5 separate regions of the Homo sapiens genome follow, and all the other regions are linked to region 3. The links are contacts of gene promoters, found by promoter capture Hi-C in blood cells and fetal thymus (Javierre and others, 2016). All regions are on one chromosome and are shown on one strand. Each heading gives the region's core, a stretch centred on a gene start or on the middle of the fragment in contact. The rest is flanking DNA. Distances are from core to core; before and after follow the strand shown. Region 1 has its middle 140 kb from the start of XXYLT1-AS1. Region 2 has its middle 140 kb from the start of LINC01972. Region 3 holds the start of XXYLT1-AS1 (XXYLT1 antisense RNA 1). Region 4 overlaps XXYLT1 (xyloside xylosyltransferase 1). Region 5 has its middle 160 kb from the start of XXYLT1-AS1.

Region 1 (5,362 bases), core at 2,172-4,671, 140 kb after region 3:
GCTGACCACTCTGCTACCACCTTATTTTAGGACGTTACCCTTTCTCCTCTAGACTGACAACACCCTCTGTGATGGTTAATACGACTCCAAGTTCTTCAGCTTTGGGACGCGGACTGGCTGTCTTTGCTCCTCAGCTTGCAGATGGCCTATGGTGGGACCCTGTGATCGTGTGAGTTAATACTTAATAAACTCTCCTTTATATATCTATCTATCCTATTAGTTCTGTCCCTCAAAAGAACCCTGACTAATACACCCTTCTAACTGGGCTCCTTGCCTCAGACTTCTTTGCAACCCTCCAACTCCCCAGTCACTATCCACACTGATCTGGTCTGAGCATTCCCAGACATCTATTCTTCCAATGTGTCCCATCTTCTTCCAGAAAACTCAGGAAATGTTCTTTCAATGAATGAATGAACAAATGAACAAACAAACAAAGAAGGTGGCAAGACCATCAAAGCACATAAAAGTGAGGGACTTGGGCCTCAGGCTTTAGGGAGCCACGAGGTCCTGTAAAGCCCTTAAGGACAAGGTCATAGCTCTTCGAAGCGTGGGCTGGAGGAAGAGGAGGCAGGACAGTGCTCCTGGGTGCCTGTCCCTTCCCATGGGATGAGAGGCAGAGTGCAGCCTCCGGCCTCTGGCACATCTGGTGTGAGATTCACAAGCTTCTTCCCTTGTGCAGCTCTCTGGGCTGTTCTGAGAATCATTTGGGACATTGTGTGTGATAGTGTCGTGAAAATCCAAGTCAAACAATCTTTGAGAGAGAGGAGAGAGAGAGAAAGAAAGAGAGAGAGAGGCTGAAGAGACTCCACCTGACACTCCACTTACACACACACTCACCTGGAGGCTGCACACTCCCACCAACCCCTGTGTGGCTTCTGTACGAGCAGGAAGCGTTTCTCAATCACACACATGAGAGCTGGGGTCATCTGGGGTTGCTGATAACAAAGCAGACAGGATCTGCTTCCCTTCAGCAAATACCACAGGCCAACTTGCATAGAGCCCTCCTCTTTAGAGGGTCTGGGGTGGGGCTCAGCATCTGGATGGTGGCTGAATCCAGGCTGGGATGTTTTGCCAGGAGAGGCCGAGCAAGTGCCAGAGAAAGGGAAAGGCTGGGCCGTCTCACGCAGCTAGGGCTTTCTGGGTCTTCCCCCAAAGCTCACTGAGGTCTGCTGGATAACACGCTTATTCCAGTGTCTACAGGTGACAGGATCCAGGCCAAGAGCCCCCAGAGCCAAGATAGAAGAGCCAAGGGCTTCTTGGACAGCTTTTCCCTATGTTTGCAGCGAACCTATTTCCATGTCATTATCGTATTATGTAAGCATAATAGCTTGTTCATCAAGATTTCCAAGGACTAACAAATACAGCGCGTATCAAAAACTAGTATCAAAAACTAGTAATCCAAAGTACACTGATTAATTATATATACAGTTGCTATAAAATCAGTAAACATTACATATGAAAGTTAAGTGATGATTTAGAATAATAATTAGGCTAGAAATGCGAAACTGTATTACATGCATACTCAATGTTTGTTAAACAAAGAAAATAACTCACAAATGTTTTCAGTGGGTGGAAATGAAAGCCAAGGAAGAAGAGGAAATTTCACAGAATGGAAACTGGTTGGTGTCCAGGTGGAACGCACACAGCAGCACTCCACCCTGCTCTCAGCAGGACAGTTGGGGTTGGTGTCTGGGCAGCAGCGAGAGGAACACAGGCAGGAGAACCCAGAGGACACCCAGGGGACACAGGGGTCCCGCAAACAGCTCACCAGCAACTGAAGCAATAGGGAGAGTTGGAAGTTCTTGAAGTGAGGAAGGAAAGTCGAATTTAGCAGGAGGAGGTAATAATGGCTCATCTTGATTGAGTGTTCACTACGGGCTCTGCTGTTTTCTCTTTTCTTTCTTTCTTTCTTTCTTTCTTTCTTTCCTTCTTTCTTCCTTCCTTTCTTTCTTTACTTTCCTCCCTTCCTTCTTTCTTTCCTTCCTTCCTTCCTTCTTTCTCTTTCTTTCCTTCCTTTATTCCTTCCTTCTCTCTTTCTCTCTTTCCTTCCTTCCTTCCTTCCTTCCTCACTCCCTCCCTCCCTCCCTTCCTTCCTTCTCTCTTTCTCTCTTTCTTTTTTGTTTTTGACAGAGTCTTGCTCTGTCACCCAGGCTGGAGTGCAGTGGTGTGATCTTGTCTCACTGCAACCTCTGCCTCCTGGGTTCAAGCAATTCTCCTGCCTCAGCCTCCCAGGTAGCTGGGATTACAGGTAAGTGCCACCACGCCCAGCTAATTTTTGCATTTTTAGTAATGTTGGCCAGGATGATCTCGATCTCCTGACCTTGTGGTCCACCCGCCTCGGCCTCCCACAGTGCTGGGATTCAGGCGTGAGCCACCGCGCCCGGCCTGCTAAGTGTTTTCTATGCATGATTTTGTTTCATCACATACAACCCTTTGCGGGAAGTGATGTTATTATTATCACCACATCTATCTATAGATGGAGAATCTGATGCTCAGAGAACTGAAATAACTTCCCCAAGCCACAGGCAGCTGCCCAGTGGTCAGCAGAGTTTCTGGACCTGACGGCCTAATGCCAAAGCCCAGGTGACTAACCGCCGTGCGACGCTGCCTCTATGAGGCACCAGGCCAGCGTCAAAGCCTGGATGTCTCCCGCAGCCTTGCTCCGGATTATGTCCTCTAGTGGGGTGTTTATTTCTGCAGGGGGTGGGGAGGCAAACGTGTGCAATGCGTGTTTATTTTTCTATTTGTGCTAAAATAGTAAAGATTTCCGTTTCTGGAAAGCACACTTGACTAGAATTGTTTGAGGGAGGTGGACTCTTGACCCCTGCATCCAGAACCCTGGGGTGGATCTCAACTCCAGGCTGAGCACCTGGGTGGGACGGCTCTCCACAGAACCAGCCTTGGAAGCCAAGTCAATCAAGTGGCAGCAGACTTCTGCAGACGCGAGGAACTCACCATCACACACGCATTTCACAATCTCAAAAATGATCTTTTAAGATTTTTAGATATTTTTCTCTTGACACACGAGGGTGCCTCTCTGGAACTGGGAACAACGTAGAGACTCAGAGCCATTCCTTCACAGCTAGCAGGAAGGAAGGCTGCTGTTCTTTCGTTTCTTTTTCTTTTCCTTTCTTTTTTCTTTTCTTTCCTTTTCTTTTTTTTTTTTTTTTAGATGGAGTTTCGCTCTTGTTGCCCAGGCTGGAGTGCAGTGGCATGATCTCGGCTCACTGCAACCTCTGCCTCCCCGGTTTAAGTGATTCTCCTGCCTCAGCCTCCCGAGTAGCTGGGACTACAGGCACCCGCCACCACACCTGGCTAATTTTTGTATTTTTAGTAAAGACAGGGTTTCACTGTGTTGGCCAGGATGGTTTCGATCTCTTGACTTCGTGATCTGCCCGCCTTGGCCTCCCAAAGTGCTGGGATTACAGGTGTGAGCCGCCGTGCGTGGCCTCTACCTTTTTTTAAAATTGTTACTTGGAGAATGTCATTAGGGAAGGTGCGTGCCAGATTTTCTCACTCAGTGTTTGAATGTTTTTTCTTAAGCCCATACAACTCCAATCATAACTTTTATTAAAATGCAAGCCAGGTGCCGACATGCGTGGTTCTCTGCCCTGACACACGGCAGGCCTGGCTGAGTCCTGGTGAAGACGCCCAAAATAAACCTGTCTGTGTCAGTGGGGACTTGCCAACTGCCGTGACATTCAACCCTGAAGTCTCAGGGGCTTCATTCAGTGCACGCTGCTGCCTCAGACCCTGTCCAGGACAGGTTGCGGGAGGGTGCTGCTGTGCACACCCACTCAGGACCCAGTCTCCTTCCCTGGCGTGGTCTCCCTGTCTTCCAGAGCCTCGGAGCCTCCTCCTGGATTTTCTGCAGCAGCGTGACAGGCAGGGAAGCAGCAACCGTGACAGGTGTCACGGGTGGTTTGAAAGCGTCCAGGCTGGAAGTGGAGTATGTGGCCTACCTAGATGTGAAGGCTGAATTTTGTCCCCTTCAATTCACATGTTAAAAATCCTAACCCTCAGTACCTCAGAATGTGGCTGCATAGAGAGCAGAGCCATTTGAAGAGGCAGTTAAGTTAGAATGAGGCTGTTAGGGTGGGCCCTTATCCAATCTTATTGGTGTCCTTATAAGAAGAGGAAATTTGGCACACAGAGTGGCTCAATGGACTTGCACACAGAAGGTAGTCATCTACAAGCCAAGGAGGGGGGTCTCAGAAGAAACCAAACCTGCTGACACCTTGATCTTGGACTTCCAGCTTCCAGAGCTGTGAGGAAATAAATGCCTGTTGTTTAAGGGACGCAGTCTGTGGTGTTTTGTTGTGGCAGCCCTAGAAAACGGATGCACGTGGTAGCAGGATGAACCCAGGGTAGGAGCCTTCCTTAGCAGTCTCTGCCACAGCCTGTCATTGGCTTTCCTCCCAGGGGAGGATAAGCAAAGTCCCATCCAGTCCCTGTATCTAGCTCCAAATTTAGGAACTTTGGGTTGTTGGGATGTTCAAAACCCTTTAAACCCAGTCTCCTGGCTTCGTTGGCAACACAGTTCTCTCAACAACTTAGGAGGCTTCTAATCTATTTGTGTCCCATCAATTCTCACAGCTCTGGAGGCTGGAAGTCCAAGATCAATGTCTCAGCAGGTTTGGTTTCTTTTTTGTTATTGTTTTTGTTTTTGAGACAGAGTTTCGCTCTGGTTGCCCAGGCTGGAGTGCAATGGCGCAATCTCAGCTCACTGCAACCTCCGCCTCCCAGGTTCAAGTGATTCTCCTGTCTCAGCCTCCCGAGTAGCTGGGAATACAGGCATCTGCCACCACACCCAGCTAATTTTTGTATTTTTAGTAGAGGTGGGGTTTCTCCATGTTGGCCAGGCTGGTCTCGAACTCCTGACCTCAGGTGATCTGCCCAACTCAGCCTCCCAAGGTGCTGGGATTACAGGTGTGAGCCACCGTGTCCAACCTGCTTTGGTTTCTTCTGAGATCCCCCTCCTTGGCCTGTAGATGGCTGCCTCTGTGTACAAGTTCATTGAGCCACTCTGTGTGCCAAATTTCCTCTTCTTATAAGGATACCAGTCAGATTGAATAACATGCTATTAATTATACCCCTATTTTTTTTCCGAGTCATAATTCTCAATGCTGCCTTCTTTCTGTTTGCTTCCTCATGCCATTCTTTCTTAACATAATGATGGCTATGTTGAGGCTATCAGACTTGGGTAGAAAGGTACAATCCATGAGTTGATGTTTGCCTCAGAGGTGATTCACTGTGTTTAGTGAGAAGAAAGATTCATTGGGTCTTCTTTGTTCAAAACCTTTTAAAATTCAGACACTGAACAGTGTCTGAGAGAGAAACTTTCATTGTACTAAACACAGGG
Region 2 (5,685 bases), core at 403-2,902, 190 kb after region 3:
GTGAAAGCACCGTATGGTGTTTACATATCATCATACACTTGTCCAAGCCCATAGAATGTACAACACCAAAAGGGAGCCCTAATGTAAACTATGAGCTTTGGGTGATGACGTGGCAATGTAGGTTCACCGACTGTAACAACTATACCATTCGGTGGAGGATGTTGACAATGGGGGAGCGATATAAGTGTGGGGGCAGCAGATATATGGGAAATCTCTGTGCCTCCTGCTGTTTTGCTGTTGATATGGTTTATCTGTGTCCCCACCCAAATCTCAGGTTGAATTGTAATCCCCAGTGTTGGAGATGGGGCCTGGTGAGAGGTGATTGGATCATTGGGGTGGTTTCTCATGAATGGTTTAGCACCCTGTCCCTGGTACTATTCTCATGATACAGTTCTCATGAGACCTGGTTGTTTAAAAGTGTGCAGCACCTCCCAGCCTCTCTCTCTTGCTCCGGCTCCAGCCGTATAAAACGTTCAAGACAGTTCTGCTTCCCCTTCGCCTTTCTCCACAATCTAAAATTTCCCAGAGCCTCCCCGGAAGCCAGGCAAAAGCCTCTATGCTTCCGGTACAGCCTGTCGAACCATGAGCCAGTTAGACCTCTTTTCTTTATAAAGCACCCAGTCTCAGGGATTTCTTTATAGCAATGCGAGCACAGACTGATACAGCTATGAACCTAAATTTTCTTCAAATAAAGTCTTTAATTAAAAAAAAAAGCAGCTAGGCATGGAGATGTGGGCCTGTAACCCCACTACTCAAGAGGCTGAGGTGGGAGGATTCCCTGAGTCCAAGGGTTCGAGGCTGCAGTGAGCTGGGTCATACCACCTCACTCCAGCCTGGGTGACAGAGCAAGACTCCATCTCATATTTTTTTTTAAAAAAAAGAAAATAAATAAATGAAGTAAAGTGGCATTATCTGTATCTTTACAGATGAGAAACCAGATGTCCAAAGAAGCGATGAGGGTTAGCAAGGCCACAGCAGGTTGACTGGCAAGGCTGGGACTAGTGCACCGCATTCCGAACCCAGCCAACGCTCTCTTAAAAGAGGGAACTACTGCTGTGTGTCTATGACCGTAGAACAGGAGGAGAAACAGGAGAAATGGAAGGAGGGTGCTTAATGGATCCAAATCCCCTAATGTTCTCCATTCTCCTCCCCGCCACCATCTTGTCAGAGTGTCCTCCCTAACACCGTGAAGACTGTTTCTTAGCAAAACTCAGAAGTGCTGCAAGGTTGACACCAGGCCATGGCACAACCCCCAGGCCCTACCCAAAGAGCTGTCCTGGCATCTGTGAGGCCCGGGTGTTTGTCAATGAGCTGCAGGATCCACAGACAGTTCAAGGTCTTTGGAGAAGGTATGAAACTCAATGCATATTCACGGCACACTTGGTGACGACTCCTGGTTTTATGTACAGTGAAAACATATTACAGAATTATCCTACGGTAGATTTATTGGAGGTGGGAAGTAACTGAGTTTTATGAAAAATAATTATTGCCATCAAGTTGATATAATTACTTGCACTGGTTTGTCAGGGCTGCTATCCAATTTTATTTCTAGGCAATTTTTCTGATATGGTTTAAGCTACACCCAGAGAGGATAATCAGTCTGTTTTAATTTATTTCCGGGATGTCTCTCTGCCGCCTCTGCTGGGCCTGGAGGGGGCCGTGCTGTGTAGCCAGCTCTGGATGTTGTCAGCGGCCTGGAAGGCAGGGCTGGCCTGCGAACCCTTGCACTTCTGCTTGGAGAAGGGAGTAGATATGGATGATTATTGTCAGATTCCTGCCATGGTTGTTCTTCTCTTGAATACATTACTGTTCTTTGAGATGCAGGGTCTAAGGGAGAAATTGATTATAAAGATTTTGCAAGGAAACATAAGGGTAACAATAGAAAGAAAATAAGTCCTAGCATTACATAGACCTATGTTCTACTCCTGGTTCCACCCCTTATTATCTGAGTGACTTTAACTTACTGGGCCTTAGTTTCTGTTTCTGTAAAGACGGGCCCATCTAACTTGGAGAGCCACTGAGAGAAGTATAGAGTGTAACATACGCCCGCCAGCTCAGAGTCCGGCACCAGCTGGCATACAATCAAATGTTATTAGGAGGTGGAGCATGGGGTTGGGATAGGTTAACCTCCATAAGTGCCAGAGCTGGAGGGAGCTCTGGGGAGCAGGATGCCTGGTGTCTTACAGCCCCCAAAAGGGAGCAGCTGGGGGAGTCCTGAGCTCACAGTTGCCACATTCTGTCACATGGCCAATCCCTTCTGGACACAGCTGAGAGAGTTGTGGTGGGCACCTGACCCGAAGGCAGCTGAGCTGTAGGCTGGGCAACTGTTCTATGAGATGGCTTAGCCGAAAAGGTTAAGCCCAAACCAGAAAGATGGATGTTTCCAAGCCAATCAGATTATCTCTCTCTCTCTGAATGGTCCATGAGAGACAGAAGCAAGCAGGCATCCAAGGAGAAGTGCACGCACATGCACACACACACACACACACACACACACACACACAGAAGGAACCTAGCTCCATCTATAGTAACATGAGTACTAGAGCTAAGGACAGCAAGCCCCTGCAGCTGCCACAGGTGTACACTGAACCCACAAAGGGCACCTTGGACTCTGAATGTCCTTCCAGGTGCAGAACTATATGTAAGTCTCTGTTTCTTGAGGCAGAAAGCTAACAGAGCACAAACATGCCTAGAGAAATGCCCCACTAACCAGAAGATCACGCTGGACCTCAGAGAAGCCCAGGGTCACTCACTAAACTAGTGATATAGCTGAGGCTGGAAACCAGGCCACCTGACTCTTAGTTTTTGAGAAGAGCCAAATTTGGGTTCCTCCTAGAGCTGGTAGTCATGGTTTTGTAGGGAAGGGGTGAAATGCAGGGTGAGTCAAGGAGTTTCAAACACAATCATTCTTGACACGAGATCCAGTTGCTCCAAGATACCACTTTTTTTTTTTTTTGAGACAGAGTCTCGTTCTGTTACCCAGGCTGGAGTGCAATGGCGCGATCTCAGCTCACTGCAACCTCCACTTCCCAGGTTCAAGCGACTCTCCTGCCTCAGCCTCCCAAGTAGCTGGAACTACAGGCATGAACCACCATGCCCAGATAATTTTTGTATTTTTAGTAGAGACGGGGTTTCACCATGTTGGCCAGGCTGGCCTCGAACTCCTGACCCTCATGATCCACCTGCCTCAGCCTCCCAAAGTGCTGGGATTATAGGCGTGAGCCACTGCACCCGGCCCAATATGCCACTTTTGCTAGAGTGTGTCTTCCTCTCCTCACCTACTGTTTGCAGTGGATTTTTTCCTGGCAGACCATCCTGGGTCACACTGACTTCACCCTTTCATGATAGCTCACACCATGGGCTGTGTGGACATTGGATAGCAGTTTGTTAGTGACACCCACACACTGTTCCAGATGCGGTTTATGAGAGCGTGTGTGTGGCTGTGCTTGTGTGTGGATGTGGGTACCCCGGGCCTACTCAGAAAATCCATAAGGTTCTGTGGCACTGGGAGCCTGTCGCGTGCTTCCTTTCTCTACTGTAGTGAGTGCTTAGACTTCAGCTAAGAACTCTGGTACCCACAAGACCTCCCAGGCATTCCACGGCAACTCTCATCCTCCCTCGGGGTAATTTCAAACCTTTGTAAGTCTCTTAGGAGCCCTGTCTGCCAGCCACTTCCTGCCTTCCTCTCAATGAATGACCCTAATTTTGTATCATTAGAAGACAGAGGCCTTTCATGGAAACAACTACACTTTCTACCCACAGCCATAGGTTTAGTCACCTTATTAGTATCTAGACAAAGAGTATCTAGCTCTTTCCTTCTCTTCTATTTCCATGCGAGAAATACCGCAGTGCTGTGGATCCTGTCCCTTCCTTTATTCTTTCCTTCAATGAACAGTCTTAAAGGCCTAAGATGCCAGGAGCTATTTCCAAATTCTTGACAGACATTGATCTTTGGGATTTTGGCATAAAAAAATAGGAATTTCTGGGAATTCTCCAGAATTACCAAAATTATAAGTTATTTAAAAAAGATTCTCCAACATTCTTCATGCTCTTTCTTCATTACTATGGATATCTAAAAATTTTTATTTAACAAATAAGAAGAAATATTAAGTTTGGTAGCCTTTGTAAAATATTTGTATTTGGTAATATTTATAAAGCATTTACACTTTGGTAGTAGGTGTAAAAAACTAAAGCTTCCTGGAAATATTCAAATGCTGGAAATCACCAGTGAACCTCACTGGGTAGTATTGACTAATGTAACATCTGATTTCCTCGCAAGGTTAACAGGGCCTCTCAGAATCATCTGTGGGAATTGCCAATTCAAAGACTTTCTTTGTTTCCAAAACTTGTTCTTTCTCTGAATACCATTCATAGAATTTGCATAATGTTTACTATAATATAAACACAGTAATAGTTATTGTATTTGGAGGAGTGACTCACTGTTTGCAGCAGAAAATCCAGGAACACACGTTGATGACAAGACGGTAGCTACAGGCAAGACTGGCCAGTGAGATTGTGGCCACTTCTCTTCTGTGTGCTCCTGTCCCTGTTCCAGGAAATTTTGACCTTAGCCTTGAACTTCGTGTGTCAATGTTTCTTGCTCTTGCTTTTGACATGACATCAGCAGATGCCTTTGACCAGGAATATTTCTATGTTAATTGTTGATCTTTGATTCTCAAAAAAGAATTATAATACTTTTTTTCTATTTTCTCAATTCCTTGATTGATTTTTCTTACTATTTGGGAAACATACATTTCCTGAGAAATGCAGAGAAGGAATTCCTGCATGGAAGCACCAATAGTGGGCGAGTAATGGATGCCACAGTTCTGACTAAAGGCATAGATTTGGGGATTCTGAGTTGGAAGTCTGGTTGTACTTACTGGATGTGTGACCCTGGGCAAATTACCTAACATCTTTGAGCCTCAATTTTCCTATCAGTAAACTTACCTCATTGTTGTTTTGTGGTTAAATGTGTGTGGTTTTGAGGTTGAGTTGTTTTGAGGTTAAATATGTTTGTGAAGCTCTTAGCACAATCTCTGGCATGGTACAAGTGGTAATATATATTGTAGCTATTCAGACACAAGCCCCAGTGAAGGATGCATACTCTAGTGCTATCCAATAGAACGGGAATATGAGATGCAGATGTGAGTTTAAGTTTTCTGATGGCCACATTAAGAAAACAAAAATAAACAGAAGAAATTAATTTTAACAACACACTTAATTCAATAGATCCAAAATATTATTATTCCAGTATGTACTCAATATAAAAAATTAATGATGAGATATTTTGCTTTTTTTGAAACAAAGTCATGAATATCCACTGTGTATTTTATGTTTAGAGCACATCTTAATTTAGGCACTAAATTTTCCCTGGAAATATTTGATCTGTATTTAGATTTCATAAAGTTTACAGAGACTCACATATTCAAGTTGTTTCAAATATACTTACAAGATCCCAAAATCCCATTACTGGGTATATACCTAAGAGAGTGTAAATTGTTCTATTATAAAGACATATGCACACATATATTCATTGCAGCACTATTCACAATAGCAGACATGGAATCAACCTAAATGCTCATCAATTGTAGACTGGATAAAGAAAATGTGGTACATATACACCATGGAGTACTATGCAGCCATGAAGAAGAACAAGATCATGTTCTTTGCAGGAACATGGATGGA
Region 3 (5,982 bases), core at 279-2,778:
GGAGAAGGCTGGGTGGGTGTCCATAAACGCGTGCTAAGGATGGAGCCATCCATCAACCTTATTTCTCCTCTTGCCTTTGCTTAGACCATAGCGTGGACACTGCTATATATTACATATTGAATTGGGTTCCCGGAGCCTCTGGCCTCTCCCCGGAAACAAGTAAGACCTTCTCTGAAGCTGCTTGAGTTCCTGTGGGCTGGAAACAGGGCAGGGAAAGAGAGGTTTGCTAACTGGTTCCTTCCCAGCCAGATGTGGTTAACGTGGCCTCTGAAAGCACCTTACTCATCCCTGTTGAGCTGCTGACCTGCAGCTCCACATGTACCCACTCTGATTCACTGAGACTCACTCCCCCTCCAGTGAAGGCTGCCCCACCCGCAGATCAGGGGACCGCACGTGTTAGGGCCTTACCTAGGGTTCCCTGGCCACTGCCGCCTGCAGGCCCTCGCTTTGTTGTGGCTCTTCCCAAGAGTCATCAGGCGCTGTTGCTCACGCATAAGCACACAGGTGACAAAGTCCCCTGAAGAATTGCCCACCAGTGTGACCTGAACGACCCCTTTCCCCAACACCACACATGAGCACTCAAACTGGATGTGGAGGCCCGGCTGTAAGAGTGCCCATCTGCAAGGCTCAGCTCTAGGAGCTGTCCCCCTGCCTTCCCTGACCATATGGGGCACAGGTTCTGTGCTGGCCCCAGTCCCAGATGGTGGAAGGCAAGGAAGGAGAACCCACATCACCCACCTGCCGTGCACCGGGGGGTTCGCGTATGACTTTGTTTAATGCCCTGGCAGAGTCTTCTGAGGCATTACACTCACCACCGCCACAGGGAGAAGACTGGAGCAAGAGGAAGAGAATTTGCATTTGCGAGTGCACGCTGCGTTCCCGCGACAGCCAGACACTGCATTACCTCATGCAGCCCTCACGGCAGTCTCATGAGATGTAATGCTTAGTTCTGGTGGAGCTGGGGCCAGAACACACTTTCCCTGACTCAGAGTCCTCACTCTTACCTCCACCTTCTCACTACTCAAAAGTGTGGCCTGCAGACCAGTAGCGTTGGTATCACCTGGGGGCTTGTCAGCGATGCGGAATCCCAGTCTGCATTTTAACCAGATCCCGGACACACATTTCCCCCGCACAGTAAGGTCTGGGAAGCACTGCCCTGCATCTAGTAACTCTTATGTGAGAGAACCCTGGGAGGGGAGGTGGAGGCCAGTGGGGTTAGCTGAGAAAACCTTCTGGAGGGCCAGTGGCAGAGCTGAGCCACAGAACAGGTGCGTGGTGGAGCAGAGGCAGCATTTGCTAATCAGAATGGCATCTGCGATGCCTTCGCAGGCTGTGTGGAGAGGGGAAGGTGCGGCCTTGTGGCCCCTTGTCTGTGTGGAAGGGCAGGCGACTCTGTGGGGGAAGGGTGGCGTGGAGACGGGAAGCGTGATTACCCACACAGGCCTCGAGCACCCGCATCCAGGGACCACGGCCGCCAGGAGGGGCTGGACTCTCTCAGGAGAAGCGTGCGTCTGGGAATCCCCGCTGAGGGGGCTTGTGAATGTGGGATCGAAGCGCTTAGATCTTGGCTTCCGGAGGTCTCCGCGGGTGTCCAGCTTTGTACAGGGTGTGGGGATGAGTCTGCCGACCGGACTCCCATGTCAGCTTTGTGTCTGGACAGAACAAGGGGCGAGGAAGCCTGGTCGGGCCACTCTGGGCCTGCATGCGTGTGGGCAGGTGTCTGTTGGTCTTGGGCAAAGGGCGAGGTGACACTGAGGGCGTGAGGGAGGAGGCCCCAAGAGAGCAGGGAAGCGTGGAAGATGCCAGCTGGCCTGGGGGCGTGGATGTGGGTTTCAGCAGAGTGCAGACAGGCAGTGGGGCGTGGGGCCTCCTTGGGGCCTCGCTGGGCTGTGTCGGGTGCTTGCTTTCTTTTCTCCTTTGCCTCCTTCCAAGGTGCGTCCACAGCCAGCGTTTCTTTATGCTTTTCCCTCAGTCTGAGACCTAGGAACAGGAGAGGCCAGTGCTGTGAATTTCATGTTTCATGGCCTCCCCAGCAAGCCAGCCCACGAAATTCCACACAGGGAGGAGGAAGAGGAGGAGGAGGAGGAGGAGCTGCCACTGTCCCCGAGGGGAGCAGCTGACACTCTCCCCTTGACTGCACCAGGCCTTGGGGGTATGGCGCCTCCACGGACGTGGGCTGGGGGAGGATAGGCTCCTAATTAGTTTGGATGCGCTTGGAGTCAGGGCACCTTTTCCCCAGTGGGCAGTTCTGCACCCTGAACAGCTGTGGGGAGAAGGGCAGCGGGAGGACGGCCAGATAATTCCAGAAGAAAGGCTCCAGGAGTGGCAGCAGAACTGCTGTTATTTTCGGAGGAGTCTAATTACTTTCCCCAGGTAATGGCTTGAAGTAGCATCTAATTTTATTTATTTATTTATTTATTTATTTTTATTTTTTTATTATACTTTAAGTTCTAGGGTACATGTGCACATTGTGCAGGTTAGTTACATATGTATACATGTGCCATGCTGGTGCGCTGCACCCACTAACTCGTCATCTAGCATTAGGTATATCCCCCAATGCTATCCCTCCCCCCTCCCACCACCCCACAACAGTCCCCAGAGTGTGATATTCCCCTTCCTGTGTCCATGTGATCTCACTGTTCAATTCCCACCTATGAGTGAGAATATGCGGTGTTTGGTTTTTTGTACTTGCGATAGTTTACTGAGAATGATGATTTCCAATTTCATCCATGTCCCTACAAAGGACAGTAACTCATCATTTTTTATGGCTGCATAGTATTCCATGGTGTATATGTGCCACATTTTCTTAATCCAGTCTATCATTGTTGGACATTTGGGTTGGTTCCAAGTCTTTGCTATTGTGAATAATGCCACAATAAACATACGTGTGCATGTGTCTTTATAGCAGCATGATTTATAGTCCTTTGGGTATATACCCAGTAATGGGATGGCTGGGTCAAATGGTATTTCCAGTTCTAGATCCCTGAGGAATCGCCACACTGACTTCCACAATGGTTGAACTAGTTTACAGTCCCACCAACAGTGTAAAAGTGTTCCTATTTCTCCACATCCTCTCCAGCACCTGTTGTTTCCTGACTTTTTAATGATTGCCATTCTAACTGGTGTGAGATGGTATCTCACTGTGGTTTTGATTTGCATTTCTCTGATGGCCAGTGATGATGAGCATTTTTTCATGTGGTTTTTGGCTGCATAAATGTCTTCTTTTGAGAAGTATCTGTTCATGTCCTTCGCCCACTTTTTGATGGGGTTGTTTGTTTTTTTCTTGTAAATTTGTTTGAGTTCATTGTAGATTCTGGATATTAGCCCTCTGTCGGATGAGTTGGTTGCGAAAATTTTCTCCCATTCTGTAGGTTGCCTGTTCACTCTGATGGTAGTTTCTTTTGCTGTGCAGAAGCTCTTTAGTTTAATTAGATCCCATTTGTCAATTTTGTCTTTTGTTGCCATTGCTTTTGGTGTTTTAGACATGAAGTCCTTGCCCATGCCTATGTCCTGAATGGTAATGCCTAGGTTTTCTTCTAGGGTTTTTATGGTTTTAGGTCTAACGTTTAAGTCTTTAATCCATCTTGAATTGATTTTTGTATAAGGTGTAAGGAAGGGATCCAGTTTCAGCTTTCTACATATGGCTAGCCAGTTTTCCCAGCACCATTTATTAAATAGGGAATCCGTTCCCCATTACTTGTTTTTGTCAGGTTTGTCAAAGATCAGATAGTTGTAGACATGCGGCGTTATTTCTGAGGGCTCTGTTCTGTTCCGTTGGCCTATATCTCTGTTTTGGTACCAGTACCATGCTGTTTTGGTTACTGTAGCCTTGTAATATAGTTTGAAGTCAGGTAGTGTGATGCCTCCAGCTTTGTTCTTTTGGCTTAGGATTGACTTGGCGATGCGGGCTCTTTTTTGGTTCCAGATGAACTTTAAAGTAGTTTTTTCCAATTCTGTGAAGAAAGTCATTGGTAGCTTGATGGGGATGGCATTGAATCTGTAAATTACCTTGGGCAGTATGGCCATTTTCACGATATTGATTCTTCCTACCCATGAGCATGGCATGTTCTTCCATTTGTTTGTATCCTCTTTTATTTCCTTGAGCAGAGGTTTGTAGTTCTCCTTGAAGAGGTCCTTCACATCCCTTGTAAGTTGGATTCCTAGGTATTTTATTCTCTTTGAAGCAATTGTGAATGGGAGTTCACTCATGATTTGGCTCTCTGTTTGTCTGTTGTTGGTGTATAAGAATGCTTGTGATTTTTGTACATTGATTTTGTATCCTGAGACTTTGCTGAAGTTGCTTATCAGCTTAAGGAGATTTTGGGCTGAGACAATGGGGTTTTCTAGATATACAATCATGTCGTCTGCAAACAGGGACAATTTGACTTCCTCTTTTCCTAATTGAATACCCTTTATTTCCTTCTCCTGCCTAATTGCCCTGGCCAGAACTTCCAACACTATGTTGAATAGGAGTGGTGAGAGAGGGCATCCCTGTCTTGTGCCAGTTTTCAAAGGGAATGCTTCCAGTTTTTGCCCATTCAGTATGATATTGGCTGTGGGTTTGTCATAGATAGCTCTTATTATTTTGAAATACATCCCATCAATACCTAATTTATTGAGAGTTTTTAGCATGAAGGGTTGTTGAATTTTGTCAAAGGCTTTTTCTGCATCTATTGAGATAATCATGTGGTTTTTGTCTTTGGCTCTGTTTACCTGCTGGATTACATTTATTGATTTGCGTATATTGAACCAGCCTTGCATCCCAGGGATGAAGCCCACTTGATCATGGTGAATAAGCTTTTTGATGTGCTGCTGGATTCGTTTTGCCAGTATTTTATTGAGGATTTTTGCATCAATGTTCATCAAGGATATTGGTCTAAAATTCTCTTTTTTTGTTGTGTCTCTGCCTGGCTTTGGTATCAGAATGATGCTGGCCTCATAAAATGAGTTAGGGAGGATTCCCTCTTTTTCTATTGATTGAAATAGTTTCAGAAGGAATGGTACCAGTTCCTCCTTGTACCTCTGGTAGAATTCGGCTGTGAATCCATCTGGTGCTGGACTCTTTTTGATTGGTAAGCTATTGATTATTGCCACAATTTCAGCTCCTGTTATTGGTCTATTCAGAGATTCAACTTCTTCCTGGTTTAGTCTTGGGAGAGTGTATACGTCGAGGAATTTATCCATTTCTTCTAGGTTTTCTAGTTTATTTGTGTAGAGGTGTTTGTAGTATTCTCTGATGGTAGTTTGTATTTCTGTGAGATCGGTGGTGATATCCCCTTTATCATTTTTTATTGCGTCTATTTGATTCTTCTCTCTTTTTTTCTTTATTAGTCTTGCTAGTGGTCTATCAATTTTGTTGATCCTTTCAAAAAACCAGCTCCTGGATTCATTAATTTTTTGAAGGGTTTTTTGTGTCTCTATTTCCTTCAGTTCTGCTCTGATTTTAGTTATTTCTTGCCTTCTGCTAGCTTTTGAATGTGTTTGCTCTTGCTTTTCTAGTTCTTTTAATTGTGATGTTAGGGTGTCAATTTTGGATCTTTCCTGCTTTCTCTTGTGGCATTTAGTGCTATAAATGTCCCTCTACACACTGCTTTGAATGCGTCCCAGAGATTCTGGTATGTTGTGTCTTTGTTCTTGTTGGTTTCAAAGAACATCTTTATTTCTGCCTTCATTTCGTTATGTACCCAGTAGTCATTCAGGAGCAGGTTGTTCAGTTTCCGTGTAGTTGAGTGGTTTTGAGTGAGATTCTTAATCCTGAGTTCTAGTTTGATTGCACTGTGGTCTGAGAGATAGTTTGTTATAATTTCTGTTCTTTTACATTTGCTGAGGAGAGCTTTACTTCCAAGTATGTGGTCAATTTTGGAGTAGGTGTGGTGTGGTGCTGAAAAAAATGTATATTCTGTTGATTTGGGGTGGAGAGTTCTGTAGATGTCTATTAGGTCCGCTTGGTGCAGAGCTGAGTTCAATTCCTGGGTATCCTTG
Region 4 (5,161 bases), core at 2,597-5,096, 150 kb before region 3:
GAGAAGTTATTAAGAATAACTTTTAGGCAGACAGTTAAGGTAAAGGTTCTCGGTGGAAATTTTCTTATAATAAGAAACAACCCCCGAACCATCTCTTTTTTTTTTTATTATACTTTGAGTTCTAGGGTACATGTGTACAACGTGCAGGTTTGTTACATATGTATACATGTGCCATGATGGTGTGCTGCACCCATTAACTCGTCATTTACATTACGTGTATCTCCTAATGCTATCCTTCCCCCTTCCCCCCACCCCACGACAGGCCCTGGTGTGTGATGTTCCCCTTGCTGTGTCCAAGTGTTCTCATTGTTCAGTTCCCACCTATGAGTGAGAACATGTGGTGTTTGGTTTTCTGTCCTTGCGATAGTTTGCTGAGAGTGATGGTTTCCAGTGTCATCCATGTCCCTACAAAGGACGTGAACTCATCCTTTTTTGTGTCTGCATAGTATTCCATGGTGTATATGTGCCACATTTTCTTAATCCAGTCTATCATTGATGGGCATTTGGGTTGCCGAACCATCTCTTTTCTAACAGAAAAGGCGTCTTGAAGGGCTGGGCCAGCAAGCTTTGATATGCGAATGCCAGCCATTAGAAACTGGGTTCACTCAACATGGCGATTCCCACCCTGTTCTTGTCACTGGGTGTAGCAAGTGTTATGGCCACCTCCAGATAACACCTTGTGTTCAGAACATCATGGCACCCTACATTTGCATATTAAAAGGGCTAAGGTGGGAGGGCCAGGTTTTTCTGCGGGCTGTGTAAATAACATACCTGGACAAATCAATTCCCTGGGCCCTATGCAGATCAGACCCCACCTCCTCCAGCCTCCCATGTGAACCCCCGCTTTTCCACTGCACTTTGTTTCTCCTTGTTCCAAACCCTATCCCTTGTCTCTGTACGGGTGAGCTGTTCCCTTCTTTCTTCCTTCTTTCTTGCCTATTAAACTTTTCGCTCCTTAAAACCACTCCTCATGTGTCCATGTCATTGATCCTGTTGGCGCAAGACCAAGAACCCTGGTGTTGCTCCAGTCATCAAAGTCGTATCAGTAGTTTGCAGGTTGGGTGTAAAATTGAGGCAACAGCTCCTACTGACAAAGAGAGTGATTGTAGCCCGGGTCTTCTGTCTAGCAGGTTAAAGGTGAGAAGGAGGCCTGTGCTCCGGAATGTTTAGAGTAAGTCCTATGTGGAAGAAATCTCTCTCTTTGGGTGAGGGCTGGGATGGAGAAGCACATGACATGCCCGGGGGAGATGCTGGGGTCAGAAGGAACTGCTCAGTTCCCAGGTGCTGCGGGGCCACGGGGCAACATTCTGTGTCTGAAACAGTTGTCCCATCGCCCCTCCTCTCTGCCCCTTTATTTGCTCGTTCCTACCTGCAGCAAGCATTTACAGAGCCTCCACTGCATGGGAAGCACTTGACTAAGAGCTGGATATGCAGCAATGAATACGACAGACAAGGTCCCGCCCTCATGGTGCCTTACAGGCTGGCTGGGAGCTGGGGAGAGATGGGCAGTAAGTGACTAAACACTGAAAAATATGACATGTCTGGTGATAAGTATTATGGAGGAAATGAATCTGGTCATGCAATAGCCAGGACTGATGGGTACATGTGTGTGTTGTGTGCATGTCTGTGTATGTTGTGTGCATGTGTGTGTGTGTTGTGCGCATGTGTGTGTGTGTTGGTGGTGAGGGTGGTAGCTACTTTTTTGGTGAGGGAAAATCTCTGGAGGTGACGTTTGAACTGATACCTGAATGGCTAGAAGGATTCAGGCAGAAGGTTCTGGGGGAGGGTTCTCTGAGCAGAGTAGACAGTGCATAGGCCCTGGGGTGTTCAGGTGTCTGGCATGGGTGTAGGAATGAAAGACTCCTAGTCCGTTAGCAGATTTTTCTTCGCTTCTGGAAATGCGCCTTCACATTCTTGGTGCAGGTTAATTGGAAAACAATGTTTTGTTTTGTTTTCCCAGAAAGTCATTTTTCCTCCAGTTCTTGTTGGAATTGCTGACAAGCCTTGGGGAGAGATCAATAGGTAGTGTAGCTCTGCCCATCCATCACTCAATCATCTGTCTGTTGCTCCAGGAAAACTTCCTTTAAGGAAACACGTTTGATACAATTTCAGACATGAAAATCAGGACACAGAATAGCTGTGCCCTAATTTAAATCCTGTGGGGCCCATAGTGGGGTCTATTGTGTCCCCAACCACCAGCCTCAGAGCCTGTCATTTTGTTTGCTTGTCCTCCAAGTGTATGGATACCAGACATCACAGGGCACCTGCCCTTGCTTCAAGAAGGTGTGAACAGCTCCTCCTTGGGAATGTGCCAAGTAGGTGTCGGTCCTGAAAGACCCGCCCTGCTTCTTCAGGTCGGCCTTGGTGTTCTGCCAGGCTTGACGAGGCCTGAGAGTGGGAGAGTGGGAGAGGCCATTTCCAATTGGGAGGCAGATGTCTTTACTTAGTGACTTTTCTGATACATTAAGACCTCTTCCGTTCAGAATTGTGTTTGATCTACCTATAGGTTTGGAGCGTTTTAGTGACTCTTTTTTTTATTTGAGATGGAGTCTTGCTCTGTTGCCCAGGCAGGAGTGCAGTGGCACAATCTCAGCTCACTGCAACCTCCGCCTCCCAGGTTCAAGCGATCCTCCTGCCTCAGTCCCCCAGTTTATGGTTCCTTCAGGAGGTGGATTCAGCATTGGCAGGGGCACCAGGATTGCTGGACTTGGGTAGAGTGTGCCTGAGCTTTGTGCCACCACCTTCCCTCCAATAGCTGTGCTGGGGGATGGTCTCTGGCGGCGCATGGGGAGGAGATGGGTGAACCCTTGGCCTCCGGCCGACCTGTGGCGTTGCTGTCTGTGGCCAGAGGAGTGGCTGTTCTTCAAACAGGCCTTGGGATTTCCGGGAAACCTGGCATCTTTCCGTGCGTGGGGCCAGCCCTTGCCACGTGCCTTCTTGGCTCAGGAGTGTGGCTGCGACCTGACTCCCAGTGGGGCCGGCCAAGTGATAAAATTAGTTTTCTCCACCAAATGGAGCTAAAGGCTTGGCCTGAGTTTATGTCCCCAGGGAGTGTTTAGAGGAGCGGTGGCCTGGCTCTCAGGCATCTCAGTGCCAGCGAGCACAGGGCTGGGTGGCAAAGACGCCTGCTTCTGCCTGGCACCAGGCTCTGCCATGACTGATGGATGCTTCAGCCTCCCTGCATCACAAGTGTTGAGTTTGCTGTGCATGGTAGAATATGAGGCAAGCTTCACCTCTTTCCCCTCCTCCCTACACTGTCCCTTTCGAAAGAGTTGAGCCTTTCCAAGGTCTTTTATATCACACAGCACTTTCTCGGTTACATATTTTAGTTTGAACAACAAAGTACTGTTTGAGGACACCTTTGCCTGAAAAGAAAGCTCAGTCATTACTGAATTTAGATGCAGAAGTAATTAAAAATAAAAGTAGGCAGAGAAATTTAACACAGATTTAATCATTTCTGGGGCAGGATATTCCTGGGGTGGGATATTCCTGAAGGTTAGTGAATGGCTACAAATATATGATTATAGGCCGGTGAAGAACCCTACTTTGAGAAATGTCATTAGGTGATTAAAAACAACACCCAACTGCCCTCATGATACGAACATGGGTTCTTGTGGGTTGGGGTGACATTTCTGATGCCAACATTCTACATAAATTCACAGGGAACCGTATCCAACACATCCTAAACAGCTGGTGAGGAGGACGTGCTCTGGGTGGCTCAGCTTGACTCTGGGCTTCATAAAGGCATTGCTGTTGATGCACACGAAGGGTTTGAAGAGAAATTATTTTGTAAGCTGGGTGTGGGAAATAGTATTTTATAGTCAACAGGATTTTTAAGTATGTGTATGTAAACAAATTAATAAAACCTACAAATCGTGATCAGACTTTTTTGTCTACATTCCTAAAAATCATATATTCCAGGTTGGCATTAACTATTGTTTTGTGTCTTCTCATTGGCTAATTGCCTTCAGTATGGAAGTCATCTTATATTCCTGGTTTCCCAGGTTGTATGTTCTTCTTGCAGCTCTCGAGGTGGGGGACTTGAAAGGGAGGAGGGGAGGTCGAAGGGGTGGCCTTTTCTCTCCCCCATCCCTCTCATTTCCTCTCTTCACTCTTGCTTTGCTGCCCCCTGCCGCACTGCCAGGCATCAGCCCCTGGTCTGGGCAAAGGACCCCAGAGTATGACAGGTGCCAGCCCATCCTTGGGAAGGTTAGTTTGCAAACCTGTTTTAGTCTTTGGGAGGCCTGGGTATTTTGATTCACACTTGCAGGGTCTGTGATTTGCCTCTTGCTGCATAAAGTCTATTCCATGAAGCATACTCATTTATCTTTAAGCAGATTTATTATATGAAATATTCATGGGTGCAGGCTTGGCAGCACAGCGTCTGGAACAATGTACTGAGTACAGTTTGTCCTCAGAAGTCTATTCATGCTGATGGGATGCAGTTGTCTCCTGTGAAGCTTTGGGGTGAGATGGGGCCAGTAGGGAGTGAGCTGGCTGAGGATAGCTCTTCATCTCCCTTAGTTTGGCTGCAGCAGCCCTGCTCTGCGTGTATGCCTGCGCAGATCCGTTCTTTCTCTTCCTGCTTAGTGAACACAGAGGCCTTCCCTTCTGCGAGAACCCTCTTGTCAGCTTCCAGCTTCCTGTGTAATTCGAACGGATAGGGATGATTTGGAGGGAGGGAAAAGCTGGCTTAGGAGTGAAAACTGATCTGTGGGGAGAAGGCATTTCGGGGACTGGGAGGAGGTTTGGTGCTAACACTTAGGAGTAAGCACAGTGTGGCAACCCCCGGGCTCAATGTGTGTTCCACATGGCCCTGACAGACACCACAGGAAGCATGTGGTGACAGTCCTGTATTACCCACGAAGAAACTGGGGCTCAGAGAGGTTTAGTTACTTGCCCAAAGTGCAGTTCACTTAGTTTAGCAAACCTGTATGGATGTATGGGTGGCCTGTCATGTGGCCAGTGGCTGGATACAGGGCACAGAGCAGTCACGGCCTCTGCCTACGAGGAGTGCCCCATGCAGCCGATAGAGAAACAGAGCCCTGAAAAGTGAGTCAGACAGGGTGAGTGGAGCCCCCATGCGATGCAGGGTGTTAGGAAGGGCCTGGTGAATTGTGGGAGGCTGTGGGAAGGCTGGAGGGGAGGATTGGAAAACTGG
Region 5 (5,848 bases), core at 3,063-5,562, 160 kb after region 3:
AATTTGCCCCAAGTCACAGCAGCTCATTAATGGCAGAGCCAGGCCTTGAACCCAGGCCTGTCTGAATCCATGTTCTCGGCTACTCTTCTCGTCTAAGCATGGTGCCTGGCTTCACAGAAAGTACAAGGGTTGAATTTTCTTTTGCGGAGGAAATTGATTGGGACTTATTATTAGGAATTTTAAGATGCATAGTATTCTCTGAGTCTGTGTATAAATCTGAGGTTAGGTCTATGCAAATAAGAAAATTTGGGGAAATATATAAGCAAATGATAGAAATCTGGTTTAGCTGCTTGTCTGCACATCTAGACACTTCCTCCCAAACTCGTCTGCATGTGTAGTTACAGCCCGAAGGCCTGGAGGGTACCTGTTATTCTCGTCAGGAGAGTAATTTGTTTCATTTCCTGACTTGTATGATCTCCAGGTGAGATCATGAGAAGCTAGGGATGCCTAGTATTTAGTTTATAAGAACAGAGCGCCAAAGAAGATTTTTTAAAAAATTGCAGTGGAAATTGCTGATTGCTGGAAAAGAAGTTAACATGATCTTATTTAAAACAATGAAAAGAACTTTTTAGCAATTAATTTTCCCTAAGGTGAAAACTTCGCTAAGTCAAAGCTACGGTTTGAGATTTAGCTGTGAGAATTGCTCTAATATGGAGAGACAGCCTTTGGGTACTTAAATTTTCAGTGCTGACTTAATTAAGGTTTTAGAGCATCCCAAGGCACTCGTCAAAGCTCCTATGTCTCTCGTTCCCTCCTAGCAAAAGCAAGAGGGGAAGCTGGCTGAAATTTCTGTATTTCCACTCAGTTTCTCCAACAAAACCTGCTGGTTGAAGGTAAGATTTCTTATTAGTCTGGAGGTCATTGGGCTAAATAATTCCTCACATTTTCCTGAAGTCAGATTGAACTTTGTTGTTGACTTTTCTGTTGCACGATTGAAACTGTTTTTGCAAAAATTATAACTGAGACGATTACTCCAGTGAAAGAGATCTGTCCTGACTGGCTCCATCTTGCGTCTAACCTCCAGGCCGTCCTTGTTCATTCTGGGGGCGTAGGCTGAACTAACTTTGGGAGGAACTTAGTTTATGGTTTAGCTTTGAAACAAAGATGGTAACAGCCCTTTCGCAAAACAAACCCCCTTTCTGCCTGGGGACTAGACTGCTTTTGCAGGACTCACAAATTAGCCACAAGATTAGAAATTATGGTTTAGGAGTCCTGCAGCTGGAGGCTACAAGATTCTAAACCTCCCCAAATTTCTCTTGGGGATAACGTCACTGTTGTAAAACCTGAGATCAATGATTGAGATATTTTGCAGGTCCTGCACTCGGTGGATCAGCTGTCACCACCAAGACTGACAAACTGGCTCATCTAGTCTTGTGGCCCGCACCCAGCAACTGACTCAGCACCAGAGGACAGCTTCACTTCCCTGATTTCATCTCCAACCCAACTGACCAGAACTCCCAACTCACTGGCCTTCCCCTACCCACCAAATTATCCTTAGAAACTCTGATCCCCTAGTGCTCGGAAGACTGATTTGAGTAATCATAAAACTCCAGTCCCCCACACGGCTGGCTCTGTGTGAATTACTCTTTCTCTATTGCAATCTTCCTGTCTTGATAAGTCAGCTCTGTTCAGGCCACAGGCAAGGTGAACCCTGGGCTGTTACACCCTGATGGGGTTACCTTTGAGAAGAAAGCATCTCCAGAACGCAAGAAACAGAATCTTTCTTTTGCCTTTTCCAGCTGTCTTGGAGGGAGACTTTTACCAAAGCTCCAGGTCACTTTGCACACAGGGCTGCGCTTGGGGCAGAGCGGCTCTGACCATATATTTAGGCCAAGCTGGGGCCTTCTATTAATACCACTGGCGATTTGGAAGCAGACTCATCAGGTTGGTGTATGTGATGAATAGCCATGGATATTTATATATTTATATATGCATCACTTAACAAGGGGAATATGTTCTGAGAAATACATTAAGCAAGTTCATCATTGTGCAAACATCATGGAGTGTACTTACACAAACCAATATGGTGTAGCCTATTAGACACCTGGACTGTCTGGTATTGTCTATTGCTCCTCCACTGCAAACCTGTACAGCATGTTACTGTGTTGAATACTGCATGCAATTGTAATGCAATGGTAAGTATTAGCATATCTAAACATGCCTAAACATAGAAAAGGAACAGTAAAAATGCAGGATTACAATCTCTTTGGACCCCTGTCATATAGACAGTCTGTTGTTGACTGAAATGTACTTATAGTTGTATGGCGCTTGACTGTATTTCCATGAAATTTTGGACTCTACCAATGTTTATTTGTTGGATAACTATGGAAGAGTGAAATGGCACTTTGGCCATTTTGATATGTGTGAAATTGCCATCTCAAAAAGCTGCACTAGTTCAAATGCACACTAAGAGTCTCTGCCTCTGAAGTCTGCTTCCCCACGCCGTTGTCAACACAAAGTGATATCAGAGTTTTCCATCTTTGCTGATCAGAAAGATGAAAATGGTGTTGGCTTGTTTAGTTCGTATTTCTTTAGTTAGGAGTGAGCTCGAACATCTTTTCACGTGTTGATTGGTCATTTGTTTGGACTTCTATTCATGTCCTTTGCCCGTGTTTTCTTCCATTGTTATTAGACTGTAAGAACCACTGACCTCTTCGTTTGATGTGCTAAAGTTTGATGTGTTCATGTCAACACCCTCCTCCCAGCTCCCCTCTTCACAGCACCGATGATGTCTGCGGGCCTGAAATTCAAATAGACAGGGGGAGCTCTTTAGGGTCCCTTACTCACACACTGCCTTTGAGGCTTGAAATTCTATGACCCAGAGAATTCAGCATTCCCGATCGTTTCTGGTTCTGCAGGAAAACAGGCCAACAGGAGATTTTGCTTGTTGTTCAGTGCCTCAGCCTGACCAACAGGATGGTGACAAGGACAGGGGTGTGTCCCGTTGTCCTGATTCAACTTCAGTCTTAGGCAGGCCTTGTGTGTCTCTTGATTTGGAGGTTGGAGCTTTCTCAGTAATCCTGCCCCTCTTCCCTGTGGCGGCCAAACTGCCGTGTATTTCAGGCTGTTCTTGTGCCCAAGAGAGTTTTCTGCCCCCTCCCCACCACCCACCCAACAGAAGACCTCTAATCAGCTGGATCCAGCCAGGGTGGTCTCTGCCCCTCCTCAGAGGTTGAAGTTTTCATCTTTACTCCTTCTCCTACTTACAGTGAGTGTTCTTGGGACAGCAAGCTTTGCCCTTTCCCTACTGGCTTAAGGCCTCAGGGGAGAAGATCCTGGACAAGGCTTTATGCTTTTGCCTGCAGCATCAGTGCTCCTATCTGCAGGACTGCACCTCTCAGGGTGGCTTTCTCCTGTTCTCTCTCCTGTCCAATCTTTCTTGAGAGCATGGGGTGGAGGTTTCTGGAGAAGTCTGTATGTGAGAGCCCCTCTTGTGTCTGCAGTCTCAGAGTCTGCAACCCCCTGCCAGCCCACACTTCATATTTAGTGATTCTTTAAGGTTCAGGTAGAACTTTAAAGAATCTTCTGGAATGTAGAGCTGTGGCTACAAAGCAGCTTTAGTTTCTCTGTTAGGGACTGTTTTTCCCAGCCTCCCTTGCAGCTAGGTGAAAGACTAGTTTTCACGAATAAGATAATAATAGAACTGCTGTCTTTCACTAATATGTTGTGATGATTAAGAAGTGTGCCTTTTCTGTGGCCTCTTTTGTGATTCACCAGCTGAATGAGAGGACTCTGAGGTCCTAGCAGAGGGAAGAATTCAAGACAGACAAAGCCAATCACAGAAGGCTGCCCAGAAATGTCTGCCTTGGACTCTGCCATGATGGGAAATAAATGTCTATTGTGTTAGGCCACTGAAATTTTGAAGTTTTTATCACAGGAGTTAGACTACCCTGACTCACTGAAAGACGGGTTGGCAAAGAAACATCAGTCTTTGATAATGTTAGCCGTCTCTGCCACAGTCTTGGAGAGATTGGGTAGACAAGGATGTTGATCACTTGGTTCCAGAAAGGATTAAGTCTTGAAAAGACCCCATGGAATACTTTACAACCATCCTCAGCGAGGGGATATTTGGAGTGTGCCCTTGGGTGATTTAGAGTGTGAGGTGGGGGAGACTTGAGGTGTGAGCAAGAGGATATTGGAGCTGTGAGCTCGGGAGATTTGGGAGTGTGAGCTGACCGTTTCCTACATTTAGGCAGGGGCATAGGCTGAGGCTTATTTTGCCATATTAAATGCAAATTCTTCCATCTACCTCTTAAGGGTCTTCATAATCTTGCCCCAACATACTTTCCTAGCCTTCCTGCGCTGTTCCTCTGCCTGTCCCCCAGGCTGGGGGTACATAGTGTCCTATCACCCTCCTTGAGAGCAGATCAGTTTCCATTCACTCACTTCCTCATCCATTCCTTTACTACAGAGGAGCACAAAAATGAATCCGTTAAGGCCCTACCCTCAGAAGTTCCAGTGCTTATGTGCAATGACCTTTTCAGAATATGCCTTTGCTGGGAACTGGAAATGCTGATACCAGAAGGCCTCCTTCCTTGGGGAAATATGCCTTTACTGCCCTGCCTTTCTCTGAGTCAATACTTACTGCAGACACTCTAGGCTGGTTCTGCTGTCTACACAAGAGTCCCTTCCACAGATTTCCCGGCAGCAGTCACCTGGGGTACACTAGAGGTAGGCCAAGGTCAGGGGGTTCACTGCTCCCTGGGGCATCCAGCTAAAATGTTCTTCCTTGTATGGAACTAAATCCTGTTTCCCTTTTGTTCCTACTTTGGCCCTCTGGGGTTAAGGTACAAATCTGCCTCATTGTCCCCAAGGGAGATCTTCAGAGATTCATCGGGTCTTTTCTTTAGAAAGACGTCCATTAGACACCACTGTCTTGCTCTGGGACCCTGCTCACCTTGGTTTTATTCAGTTCATCACAGAGGTCCTCCAGGTCACGCTCCCCATTCCTGGCATCCTCACTTGCATCTGTGTGGACTCTGCTTCTCAGGTCACTGACCACATGCCAAGGAATGGCAAAGCACTAAGTTAAAACACGGTCTGCTTTGACGTGCTCCAGCCAACACTGTGTAGGAGGAAACTGGGAAGGCTGTCCTGGTAGACAGGCACTTTGTCCTCTCACTCTGGAAAACTTTAAGGAAGATCTTGCATACATTTGGGCATATTCAGAGACGGGCTTGTAAAAGGTTAAAGTGAGTTTTTTAGAAGTTATCAATTTGCTTTTCTCCCTTTGGACATTCTCCAAATGACACTCTTTTTGGAAAAAAATTTAAATAGTCTGAAACTCCATGAAATACACTTTAAAGCTGTAGTGGGCAGTAAAAATGTGGCATCTGTTTAACTGATTGCAATTTCTACTGGAAGGATCTGTGAGCAGCATTTTTAAAAGCTTTTTCTTTGCCTTTGGTTTCTCTTTGTGTCCCATTTGAGTAATTTCCTCTGACATCCTTCTGTCCCTGGGCCTAGAAGCCTGGTAAATAAGCTGGCCCCAGAGAGATCCAGGAGCCAGCAATATCCTGGAAACCTTAGGCCACGAGGTTAAGCACAAAACCGCTCTCTTTCCAGGAAGGAATGATTGAATCAGAGTAACGACCTTGGCTTTCAATTAGTCCTTGTCCAGCTTTTCCCACTGTTTTCCTCTCTGCTGCCTGCCCACCATGCCCCAAGCTGTGGAGGAGCTGGACCTGCTCCAGCTCTCCTGACCCTGGGACGCTGCACAAGTGTATCCTGTCATTGGTGTGTGCCTCAAGACTTCATGGGCCTACAAAGCTGAGCTGAGTCAAGCTTCCTCCCCAACTCCGAGAAGAATGCCTGTCAGGAAGCTCAAATATTTAGAGAATGTGAAATA

What was found. The method cuts DNA at HindIII sites, captures the fragments that hold promoters and counts their contacts. A CHiCAGO score of 5 or more calls a contact.
Region 1: a contact is called between a fragment that was not itself captured here and the fragment with the promoter of XXYLT1-AS1 in region 3, in 1 of 17 cell types (neutrophils). The highest score is 6.8, in neutrophils.
Region 2: a contact is called between a fragment that was not itself captured here and the fragment with the promoter of XXYLT1-AS1 in region 3, in 1 of 17 cell types (monocytes). The highest score is 5.2, in monocytes.
Region 4: a contact is called between a fragment that was not itself captured here and the fragment with the promoter of XXYLT1-AS1 in region 3, in 1 of 17 cell types (megakaryocytes). The highest score is 5.5, in megakaryocytes.
Region 5: a contact is called between a fragment that was not itself captured here and the fragment with the promoter of XXYLT1-AS1 in region 3, in 1 of 17 cell types (endothelial precursors). The highest score is 6.8, in endothelial precursors.

What each region holds. Positions count from the first base shown.
Region 1 is chr3:194,948,716-194,954,077 of GRCh38, reverse strand. No RefSeq gene overlaps it. Among named protein-coding and RNA genes, the nearest start is that of XXYLT1-AS1, 140 kb to the left of the region's middle. The HindIII fragment of the contact is 5,514 bases long and covers 665-5,362 here.
Region 2 is chr3:194,905,154-194,910,838 of GRCh38, reverse strand. No RefSeq gene overlaps it. Among named protein-coding and RNA genes, the nearest start is that of LINC01972, 140 kb to the right of the region's middle. The HindIII fragment of the contact is 5,087 bases long and covers 1-4,195 here.
Region 3 is chr3:195,090,134-195,096,115 of GRCh38, reverse strand. It overlaps XXYLT1-AS1 (XXYLT1 antisense RNA 1), which reads right to left and starts at 1,528. Exons shown (of 4, transcript NR_104188.1): 1 at 1,438-1,528; 2 at 739-831; 3 at 409-517; 4 at 59-196. All of the region lies in intron 3 of XXYLT1 (xyloside xylosyltransferase 1), which reads left to right. RefSeq lists enhancers at 1-1,143, 1,608-1,657, 1,728-1,897, 2,018-2,087. The HindIII fragment of the contact is 5,440 bases long and covers 1-4,799 here.
Region 4 is chr3:195,238,305-195,243,465 of GRCh38, reverse strand. All of the region lies in intron 1 of XXYLT1 (xyloside xylosyltransferase 1), which reads left to right. Among named protein-coding and RNA genes, the nearest start is that of XXYLT1, 30 kb to the left of the region's middle. RefSeq lists an enhancer at 2,862-3,424. The HindIII fragment of the contact is 1,233 bases long and covers 3,230-4,462 here.
Region 5 is chr3:194,930,774-194,936,621 of GRCh38, reverse strand. No RefSeq gene overlaps it. Among named protein-coding and RNA genes, the nearest start is that of XXYLT1-AS1, 160 kb to the left of the region's middle. The HindIII fragment of the contact is 2,158 bases long and covers 3,234-5,391 here.